Linked DNA regions of Homo sapiens: region 2 is linked to region 1. Evidence: promoter capture Hi-C in human tissues and cell types (Jung and others, 2019). All regions are on one chromosome and are shown on one strand. The core of a region is centred on a gene start or on the middle of the fragment in contact, and the rest is flanking DNA. Distances in the headings are between cores, read along the strand shown.

Region 1 (5,851 bases), core at 1,361-3,860:
GAGCTTGCACATGGTTACAAAGACATGGTGCATGCACCAGTATTTGAAGATGATAATCCCCATTGGATGACCCCTGAGATGACTTTATTCATCTACAATTTCTTATTGGACACCTACTACTTTCCAGGCACTGAGAGGGTGCTGGGAATAAATATTATACACCAGTAAGTGAATATGAAAGATTGCATCCTAATGTAAAGAGTGCCATAAAAGGATTTGTTAGAAACAATATGGGAGAGAATAACAGGAAGAGGGTGTTTTGTTTTATGTGTCAGTAGGCAAAATCCTCCCTGAGACTTTAAATGGAAAAAGACCTGAAGGATGAGAAGGAGCCATTTGTATGAAAGGCCAGAGAAAAATGAAGGGGCAGAAAAGGGCTTGGTGTTTTAAAAGAATGATCGTAAATCCAGGGAAGCCAAGACTGCTGATGAAGAAAGAAACTGGCATGAGCTTGGCTGGAGAGGCAGGCACCTTCCATGTTAAAGCAGGTGAGTGGGTGGAGAGGAGTGGCTAATAGTGTGGCCACCAGAATCAGACAAGCTCAGCTAGAGTCTGGCTCTAAAACTTCTCTAGCTGTGCAGCTCTAGGCAAGTCAGTTACCTTCTCTAAGCCTCAGTTTCCTCATCTTTAAGTTAGGATCATTCTATGGCTCCCTCACTGGGTCAAGAAACACATTAATTAGTGTACTCTGAACAGTGCGCCTGGCACACAGTGTATGCTATGTCATGGTTTGCTATGACCTCTTCCAAGCTCAGTGAGAAGTTGTGGAGGATTTGAAGCAGGGGAGAGACACAACCTGGTTTTTCTTTAACAGATGATCAGCCGTTCTGTGGGCTACTGGTCATCAATAAGACAAAGAGTTGGAAGAGACCCTAGAGGTCATTTACACCAACTAGTTTCCCAGTGGTTCTCTCTAGGAAGGGGAGGGGGCGGTGCCTGGAGAGACATCACTGAAAGGCAGAAGAGTGGCTGTTCCTCAAGTGTGTTGGGCAGGAAAGAAGGTTGAGAGGCGGCCGACCACGACTTGTGGAGAAGGACTCCCAACACCTGGCCAGTGGAAAGCCCACTATTCCCCTTTTCCAGATCGTCCCAAGTCCCACATTCTGCTGTGCAGCCGGCTCCTATTTAGCCACTGTCAATGTCACTGTTCTTGGATTATAAGTGCCTCAAGGACAGCAGCCATTTCCTTTCCACTCTCACTGTACAGTGACTGACACAGGCCCCACACAACTGGGTCCTCTGAGCTTTTGAATTATTGATTGGAAAAAGGAAGATGGAGTCACAGCATTTTAGTGCCACTCCTGGAACCATACAGTCTATAAGGGATCTAGAGGGCCTTTAGGAGGTCCTTTAAGTCATGCCCCTGCCCCAGGGCCATCCTTCCTCAAATCACTCTAGCAGGACTCTTTGCCTCCTGGTTCTCCAGAGAACATTCTGCATTCTGTACTTTGGAAATGCATCCTGGAGGTCACAGCCTATGCAGGGAAATCCTTCCAAACTGCTTCCCCAGACCCCTTCTGCTGCTCTTTACAATGGGAGCACGGGCTATTTCCTGCACGAAGGGGCTCTGGCCATGAGCAAATGCATGGGATAAAAGCCCTCCTGTCTCCAGGGACGTCTGCAGAGACATCTTGGGGGAGGCCATACCAACCCCCTCTGACTGGCTGGAGCTCAGAGCTGCTAGGGGGTGGGGAAGAGTCCTTCAGGTTCCTCCCGGATTCAGCTCTCTAGACCCCGCTAGCTAGCTTCCCAGCTCCTGCGGGACCGCGGCCACCTCCCCTCTGGCTTTGCAGGCATTACCTCTTCTCAGCTCTGGCAGGACTTGCCCTACCCTGGCTCCACAACCACCACCCATCTCCCTCTCACAGACCCCAGTCTTCTTCCCAATTCTGCAAACTCCTCATTCTCTGGTACCTCTCAGGGTCTTCCCTAACCCTGGCGATTCCCCTCCCAGCCTCCCTCTCCTCTTACCCTTCCCAGCCCTAATTCTTATCCAGGTCCCCTTTCCTGTCCCCTCCCTTTAGGTCTCGCTGCTGGCCCCCATTCTTCTCTCAGTCCCCACAAGCTCGCCGCTCCCTAATTCTCCTTCAGGTCTCGTCTCCCCCATCCCCTAGCCTCCCCCATCCCCCTACCTTTTTGACTCCTTGACCTGTCCTCCAACGCGTCTGCTGTCCCCTCCCCGCCAAGCTTTGTCGCGCAAAGATCCACGACCGCCTCCCACCCCAGTTCCCCCTCTGCAGCTGCCCGGCAACCCCGCCTTGCCCGGGAAGGGCCTGCGCGCCGCCCCCGCTCACCTGTTGTGCAGACCCGAGCAAGCTGGGCTTCGCCTTCTCCAGGTCGGGGTCCTGGTCCCGCGGCAGCAGCCCCTTCTTGGGGTGCATGTGCCGACACAGGCAGGTGACCCCGCACAACGCGAGGATGCTGGTGGCTGTGCCCAGCGTGGCGCCCAGCGCGATCACAGGCACCGACAGCACCATGGTGCCCGCTCCCGGCGAGGGGCTGGGTCCCGCAGCCGCTCACCTTCCCCGGGCCGGGCCCGCCTCCAGGCAGCTCCCGGGATCCGGGCGAGCCAGCAGCTCTCCCGCCGCCAGAGGGGCGGGGACGGAGGGAGGGAGGACGGCTGCGAGGACGTCAGAGGAGGCTGGACCCGCAGCCACGTCAACCGGCAACCCCCTCCCCGCCAACACGTGACCGGACCCCCACCCCAACAGGAGCCGGAGCCTTCCAGGTGGAAGGAGCCTTGGGGTTGTTTCAGGCCATTCTTAATGCTTTGTGTACAACAGGGGACAACTGGGCCCAAGAAGTGCTGGAGCTTGCGGAGGTCACACTGTGTTAGAGGACAAACCTGGGCTCCAACCAGATCTGCGACTCTAGGAGTCACTTTCCCAGACTACTAGCTCCTTGCTCACCCTTCTACCCCAGCAGCTGGCCAAGCTGGCTGTAAAATTGGGTCTTCCGGGAGCTTTTTCAAACACAAAGCTGGAGATTTCCCAGCTCCCCAACCTGGGAGATGGTTCTTACAGGGAAGAGGAACAGGCCACAGGTAGAGGGAACAGATGGGATGTTTGGGTTGAGGCTGTACCTGTGTCCTGCTGAAGATGGACAATACAGCTGCATCCCCTTAAGGGTTGCCCAAGAGTTCACCTTTATTACCTAATCAGCAGGTATTCGCACCTTTATATATAGTTGAGGAAGCCGAGGCTCAGAAGAGAGGTGCACAGGTAGAAAAATCATCACCCTGAACCCAAGCTTATGTTTGCAGATTCCAAGTCCACACTCAAACGGACTTGTCTTAGGAGGATAAAGAAGATAAAATGCAGCAGCTAGGAGTACACACTTGATTCAGAGAGGGTGAGCATAAAACTATGCTTAGAACAAGGGGAAATTAGAATTCCGGGCATGAGGACTGTCTTAGCTCAAGAAAACAGTGGCTTTTTAGTGTTCTTCATTATATGGAGTGTTGAATTTAATTCAGCAGATATTTGCTGTGGGTTGGCTGTGCTCTAGGTGTGCTGGGCATGTGTGAAAAGGGATGTAGGTGATTTCATCCACAACAGAGCTTTCACATTTCTATGAGCCAATGTCTCCTAAATCTATAGCCTCTCCAGCCAGACCTTTTCCTCTGAGCTGTAGCTGTGACCACCACCTGGGAACCCACCCGTCCTCCAGTTTTTCAGCTATCTACACTTGCATAAAAACCCACCGATGACTTACTGGCTTAGACCAGTTATTGTGTTACTTGTCATGATTTCATGGGTTGGCTGGGCTCAGTTGGGTGGTTTTCCTGCTCAACATGTTGTCTTCTGGGACTGCAGTCATCTAGGGGTTCAGCTGGACTGGGACATCAGCTCTCCAGACACCATTGCAGATGGTGCAATGGTGAACTCACGTGGTGAGCAGTAGGTGCTGGCTGCCACTGGGATCACAATGGGGCTGTCAGCTGGTGCATTTTGGTTGTCCTCTATGTCACCTCTCCATGGTGCTGGAGCTGCTCACAGCATGCTGGCTGGATTCTAAGAGGAATGAAGCAGAAGCTGCCAGTTGTCTTAAGGCCTGGGTTCAGAAATTCTAGAACACTATTTGATCAAAACAATAGTCTCCCTCTAGTTCTTTCCTTCAGTGACATCAAAAGGAGGTGTCCAAAATACAAAGCTGATCATGTCACTCACAGCTCTCAAAGGTTCTCCAAGAATAAACCCAAGAGACTCAACCTTTATCCAAATCCCTTTGTGATGTGGTCCCTGCTAAGCCTTCCAGACTCCTCTCTACACACTTCCCAATGTGCCCCTGAGCCTCAGCCACCCCATGGACTTGGGATTCCTTCAACAAGCTAACATCTTTAGAGTCTCCATGTTATCACCCATGGGTGCATATAGCAGGCACTCAGTAACCGTGGAATAATTCATATGATCATCTTATGCAGAATTTCCAGTGTTTTGAAGGAATCCCATTTGTGATATGAGCTCCATTTTAGTAAACTGACTTTTCCACAAGTATTTATTGTGTGCCTGCTGTATGCCAGGCACATTTTCCTACTGATCCCCATTTGCTGCAAACTGTAGAGCTGAAGCACTGCAGTCCCTGGTGACAGCCTTAGCAATCTCTCACATAAGAGCTGCCCTGGGAGGTTTTCTTGGCTCCGGGCCTGGCAATGCAAAATGTTTTGTGGAAATAGAGGTTTAATTAATGCTGTCAGCTCCAGGTCTCCCATGCTCAAACGGCTGCCCTGGGAGACCATCAATGCCACTACTCATAACAGGATCTGGGGTGGGGTTAAAGGGGAAGGATGAAGAACACTTAATATCAGAAAATGTCTGATGGGGAATCAGACACCTGTCACATGATCCATTGTTACTATGGTTACTGGGATGACAGCAGCTGCAGTGGCCTTCATTTATAACAGGAAGAGGGACCCCAGCCCAAGAAGAAGAGCTTGCCTTGTGCCTCTTTCACACACAGTGAACCTATGGCAGAGCTAGGAATAGACCCCAGGGGATCCAAAGCCCAGTTGAGTGATCAGGACTCTGGGCTACCTTTGCTACCCAACCAGTCACCCTCATATATCTCATCAAAGATACGATGTTTGCTTCTTGGCTACTGATATGCAGACAGTGGCCTTTAATGACAACCCACAGAAAAAAGGCATCACTAGGTTCCTTTGAAAAATGAGAGTATGCCTATTGGGAAAGGCAGTTAACTGAGTCAGCTGAGTGGATCAGTTAAGACAGTCTGAGGCTGGGACCCACAAATAATTGGAAGTGCTGAGGCCACATTTCTAAGAGCAGACAGAGCAAGATGCTTAGGAGGCATCTACGAGGCTGAGGGATGGATCTTTGAAGGTTCCCCAGCCTCTTGATGAAATGTTCCCATTGTTATTTTGATCAATATTGTACATGTTAGATGTTTAAATATTCTGAATAATCACTCTGAACTTCTAAGGTACTAAAATGCTTTTATCTGGAGAAAAGGATTTCAAATATAGGAGGTTCTCTTATTTAGCAAACATTTGTGGTGTCTACATATGGTGCTATGCAGGAGGGAGGAAAATATACCAGCGGAATAACTGAATTTTAACATTGCAACGATTTCAGATATCACCTGTGGAATCCTTTTATTTTACCAATAAGGAAACGGAGATTCAGAGACATCATGGCTTGCCCAAAGAGTAGGAGTTAATGACAACTGGGATGGTGTTTTAGGTCAGGGTAAACTGGATTCTGCTGCAGTAACAAATAACTCAAAATGTCAGAGATGAACTCAATAAAAGCGTACATCTCCCTCCTTTCTCAATTGAAGGAGGGTCAGATGACTCATTTGGTCAGCTCTTCTCCAGTTGGTGACTCAGGAATCT
Region 2 (5,851 bases), core at 1,575-4,074, 45 kb after region 1:
TTGTTGAAAAATAAAGCTCAGACCAGCCAAGATTGGCCTCAAGGGGAGGAGAGTCTCAGAAGCTGGTGTGGTAATGGCCTCCAGCCTGGGGAAGGTGGTGTGGACTTTCCTCTCTGTTGGGTCAGTTTTGTGCAGAGCTGGGGAATACTGGGGAAAAGTGCTCCATCCCAGGGTGACCACCCAGCTCCATCAGTCCAGGGACAATGACACCATATTGATGTTGCTTCTGGCAAGGACCTGACCACTAGTTATTTCTGGGATTCTCTGGGGGTAAAAATAGGGTCACAAAACAGTTATAAAATATTACCTTTCTAATTATACTGCCAGCCCGTAAACTGTGGAACAGAACACGCTTTGTGGGGTTTAAGAACCAACTCTCCATCAGCACAAAGACCTCCCCTCTCTGCTTTCCGCACACTGTAAGTTTGCCCCTCTGGCTTCATTTCCAGCCCAGACACAGGCAGGTCAAGCTTGGAGATCAGGTCCTTCTGCTGCCTAGATCTGAACCAGTCACCCCTAAAGGGCCTTGGCTGCCCTTTTGTTCCTTTTGATGCTGGTGGGAGTATCAATAGGCATCACTTAGCACTGCCTGTGTACTTGCAATGTGCTAAGTCCTGAAGGCACAGGTCCCACTGTGATCCCATTTCACAGCTGAGAAAACTGAGGCTCTGAGCAGTCCTGTGGTCCTTCTCTTCCACAAAGCTGCTGTAAAGTCTGAAGAAAAGTCTGGGCTCCCTCGGTCTCTCTCCACCTTTGCAGCCTCCTTGCCCTTCTCCTCGACCCAGGCCATTCTTTTTCCTATCCTTTCTCCAACCAGATGTCACCCCAACACCTGTACACACCCCATCCAGCTCGGCCACAGAACTGACTCTCACTCAGGATGAAAGCAGTCTCCTTTCTTTTCAGTGAAAACCTGCCTTGACCCTTAAACCTGATGCTTGGCATTCCCTGATGCAACCAAACTGACTTCAGCCTGAGATCCAACATGAGGCTGAGCCATCAGGACTGCCTTGGCTGGACATTTCTCTCCCTCCTGCCAGGTACCCTGTTCTCAACCTCTGACTGGCTGTCACCTTCAGACTGCTTTTAATGGAGCAAAACGCAAGCTTTGCAATAATAAGGGGCTTCAACAAAAGCCTGTTCAGAACAGAGAGAGAATTTGAGGAATCTCAAAGCTGAAATCAGTCTGGTTAAGTTGGGAAATGCAGTGCTACAAGTTGGGCCAACAGCCCTAGAGGCCTACAGGGACAGAAGGACCCAATCTTTCTACACTTGGGTTTCTGTTCTTGTGTGGGTCCAATTTCTAGAGTTAAACTTCAGGCACAATTTCTAGATGTGCAACAGTAGTAGCTCTTATCAATGGAGCACTTCCAGTGTGCCTGGCTCTGTGCTGACCCCATTACATGGATTCATTATTTGGCTTCTAGAGTGGGTAGAATGGTGGCCCCCAAAAGATACATCTGTGTCCTAATGCCCAGAACCTGTGAATATGATCATATTTGGAAAATTGATCTTTGGTGATATAATTAAGAATCCTGGGTTGGAGTCATACTGTGTTATCTAGGTGGGCTCTCTATCCAATGACAAGTGCCTTTATAAGGGATCCATGAAGAAGAGACAGAGGGACAAAGATTGGAGTTCTGCAGCCACAACCCAAGGAACACAAAAAGGCAAGAATAGATTTTCTTTTTTCTTTTTCTTTTTTTTTTTTCGAGACAGAGTCTCGCTGCTTTTTCAAGACAGAGTCTCGCTGCTTTTTCGAGACAGCGTGTCGCCCACGCTGGAATGCAGCGGCACGATCTCAGCTCACTGCAACCTCCGCCTCCCGGGTTCAAGCAATTCTGCTGTCTCAGCATCCCAAGTAGCTGGGACTACAGATGCACATCACCACGCCCAGTTAATTTTTGTATTTTTAGTAGGGATGGGGTTTCCCCATATTGGTCAGGCTGGTCTCGAACCCCTGACCTCAGGTGATCCACCTGCCTTGGCCTCCCAATGTGCTGGGATCACAGGTGTGAGCCACCATACCCAGCCTAGATTTTCTCTATAGCGTTTGGAGGGAGTGCAGCCCTGCCGACACCCTGATTTCAGACTTCTAGCCTCTAGAACTGTGAGTGTGTAATTTTCTGTTGTTATAAGCCACCCAGTTTATAGTAATTTGTTACACCACCCAAAGGAAATAGAGGAGTCTCCCATCAACTCTGGAAAATAGACACAGTCATCTTCCATTTTATAGATTAGGAAACTGAGGCACAGGGCTTGGATAACTTGTCCAGGGTCCCAAAGGCAGGAAAAAGCAGCACCAAGATGAAAAACCAGTTAGAATGACCCCAGAGACCATCCTCCCAGCCACAGTCTGTGATGCCTCCTGCTCTGCTAGACTGCTGGAATGTGCCTAAAATAAGTAGGCATTTGTCCCCATTTTGCAGATGAGAAAAACAAGGCAACCGTGAAGTAACTGTTGGGGAAAATAAAACTGGGATGGAACATTGAAATTCAAAAGTAGTTCCTTGTATGCCTCTTTTCTTCATGCTCACAACCAGCCAGAGAAGTGGTTGTTACAACGTCCATCTTCCAGATGGGAAGATTAAAACAGTAGCTCTTTGAGGGAGGGACTGTTCACCATTGCTACCCTGAGCTAGCCCTGAGCCTGGCTGAGGTAGCTCAGGGAGGTGTGGTCATTCATCCAAGATCATGCAGCCTGCCAACATGAGGCCAGGGACTCAAGCCTGGGTTTTCTAATGCCAAAGCCTGTGTTTTCCCTCTGCTGAACAAATGCTGACCTCTGTTATCTCCAGACTATATGAGCAAATGGGTGGAGGGCAGAGAGACACTGTGAGGCCTGGAGAGAATGTTGGTGGCAGCTTTGAGACTGGGGTTGGGGGTGGTATGCCTTGATGACTAGAAGGGTTTGGACAGGTGAAGGAAACAGGACAGAAGAGATAAACTGACACCCAGCATGGGGATGCCAGGGTCTAGAGGCAGGAGGGAGGCTGGGAACCAAGGCTAAGGAAGGAAACCCAGATTTACTCTTCATCCTCCCTCTTCCTGAAGCTCTCCATGTACCCCAAAGCCCAGCCCCCAGTGATAACACTACAGGCCTGTGCCCTAATGGCAGGCCATGCATCAAAAGTCAGAAGATAGTGGGGCAGCCATGCTACTGCACACAACTTGATACATTTCCCAGGAGCCCTGGAATGTCGGCTCAGCTTCGGGAGTCACATCTGACTTCTCTAAGCTTCAAGGCAGTGTTCAGAAGTGAGAGGTGTCCTTCCTCTCCTTCTCATGAGTCTGTGTGGATGGTCAGAGAGCCGTATGTTCTCGTACACACCGTTTTCGAAAGGAGACAGTCCTTGACTTGAGTTTTAGGAATTCTCTTCCCAGTCTTTAGTCATTGATTTCTAGAAAAAAACCTTTTCCTCTTTATTATTTAACTTCTGCCTTCATCCCTGCCACCCAGGCTGAAGAACTGACAGTGAAGTATGCTTTCCTCAAAGGCAAGAGAAGGACAGGGTTATGGAGAGAGTCCTGGCCACGAGACGGGATCTCAGGGGTTTAGTATTAGCTCTGCCTTTAATTGGAATAGTGAGGATGAGTTTGGGTGCTGGAGTCAGACAGGTGCAGGTTCAAGTCCCAGCTAGACCACTTTCAGGCTGCATGGCCTTGGCCAAGTGGCTCAACCCCTCTGAGGCTATAAAATGGGAGTAATTGTGTTTGCAAAGCAGAGATTTGTGGGGAGGATGCATGAGCAAATGCACCGGCTCCGTAGAGCTCGGTACATAGTGAAGCTTCAGTGCTAATGATTATCATGACATTAGGTCTCTTACACCCCCTTCCTTCCCTGACTCAACTAAGTCATGCTGCTGGTCCTTGTCTGCCAGGCTCTAGCACAAGCCAAGAAGTCTCCCTCTTGTGGTTCCTTATTCCTGGAATTCTTGGCCCCCAGCTCCTTGAAAGCCTGGCTGCTCTTCATCTTCAGGCTCGGGGGAAATGCCACCTCCACACAGATCTTGTTCCTGTCCCTCCATCTCTTAACCCCCTCCCCACAATTGCTGATAATTGTGTTGATCTGATCACTTCTCATTGCCCCTGTGCTCCACTCGCCTGCAGCCTTGGTGTGGGAAGGGGCCACGTCTCTCCTGCCACTCTTGTGTCTCCATCACCCATGAGTGTTTGTGCAGTGACATGGATTGACTCAATGAACATTCAATTAACATTTGTTGATTTAATGAGTCACGATGTCTGACCCTGGGTAAACAACACGACACTTGTGGGATTCCGTTTTTCTCATCAGAAAAATGAGGAGGTTGGAATAAAAGGCTGAAACATATTATTTCCCCTAAGTTTCCCATGAACCTGTGAATGAATTCAACGGAACCAGGGAGTTAAGGTGCAGAATTGTTACAGAAACATGGCCTCTTTCTGCCCTCTAGTGGACGAGATGGTGAATGGCACTTCATCATCCCCACCGCCGCCCCCACTCTCCCGCCACTGTTTCTAATATATTAGCCCTGCCAAGAACCACTTCAGAAAGGAAAATATTCAGTGGCCAGAGAAAAGGGGCCATGTCTTCTTCATTAGGGTACACCCAGAGTCGAGCAGTGAAGCGTGGGAGACAGCTAGATTCAGCAGGAAGGGCACTGGTGGGACTGGGACCACCACCTACTCCCTGGGTGAAGTTGGGCGTGGTTCTGTCCTCTCGGAGCCTCTATTTCCCCATCTGTGCAGTGGGCATAATAACATCTACCTCACAACTGTTGTAGGATTAAGTAATGTAAAGTGTCTGGAATGTGGTAGGTCCTTAATCAAGGTTGGTAGCCTCTTGGCTCTTTATACACTTTGTATGAATGAAACGCAGTCACAGACACAAAGGAAAATGTTACAGCCTAGAAGAAAAAGCAAGAAATGTGTGTAAATGAGTAGGAAACGGGTTTATGTACCGGGGAAACATCCTCGACTTGATGTTAGGAGCTTTGAGATTTAGATTTATGAGCTCTGACACTAACAAGCTCTGGGACCCTGGGAACGTTCTGTCTGTCGCCTCTCTGGACCTCAGCGTTGTCATCTGGGAAACAGAAGGTTAAATGACAGCATCATCCAGAAGGCACTCAGCTTCAGGAAACAGAAAACACAACTGACGGTGAGTAGATCCAGGGTCGGCAAACGACAACCCACTTGCCAAATCTGTTTTTGTGCCGCCTGTGGGCTAAGAATGATTTCTACAATTTAAATTGTTGAAAAAAATCAAAAGAATAAATAATATTTTGTGACACATGAACATTATATGAAATTCAAATTTCAGTTTCTATAAATAAAGTTCTGTTGGAACCCAGCCACACTCATTTGTTTATGTACTTATCTAGGGCTCTTTTCCCGTGACAATGTCAGAGTTGAGTGGTTGCGGCTTGGAAAGCTGAAAATATTTACTATGTGTCCATTTGAAAGAACAAGTTTGCTGACCTCCGACTTCACTAATAAAGATATTTAGCTGTCTCACATAACCATAACATTCCCGCTGTTCTCTTGGTCTTCTCTCCTGATCACAAGATGGCAGCCTCGATTCCATGAGTCACATCTACACACAGCCTACATTTAAGACAGGAAGTAAGGAGCAGGGGGAGAGAAAAGACTTTCTTCTGCCGTGATTCCTGTGCCCAGAAAGAAAATATTTCCCGGAAGCCCTGCAGGAGGCTTCTCCTATCTCATTGGCCGGAATGAGGTCACATGGTGGACCCTGGACCAATGCCTGCAAAGGACCTACCCTTCCTGAGATGAAGGGATCTGGCCTTCTAACAGAGACAAAAACCAGGGCTCTGTTAGCATGAAAGAAAGGGGGCAGGGGGCACGTGCC

Evidence for each region. The method cuts DNA at HindIII sites, captures the fragments that hold promoters and counts their contacts. A contact is called where the count stands out against the background at its distance.
Region 2: a fragment that was not itself captured here is called in contact with the fragment with the promoter of SYT13 in region 1 in 2 of the 25 tissues and cell types used here (dorsolateral prefrontal cortex and liver).

Annotation. Positions count from the first base shown.
Region 1 is chr11:45,283,731-45,289,581 of GRCh38, forward strand. It overlaps SYT13 (synaptotagmin 13), which reads right to left and starts at 2,611. Exons shown (of 6, transcript NM_020826.3): 1 at 2,295-2,611. The coding sequence starts at 2,477. RefSeq lists an enhancer at 2,006-2,792. The HindIII fragment of the contact is 8,257 bases long and covers 327-5,851 here.
Region 2 is chr11:45,328,158-45,334,008 of GRCh38, forward strand. No RefSeq gene overlaps it. Among named protein-coding and RNA genes, the nearest start is that of LINC02696, 24 kb to the right of the region's middle. The HindIII fragment of the contact is 4,072 bases long and covers 789-4,860 here.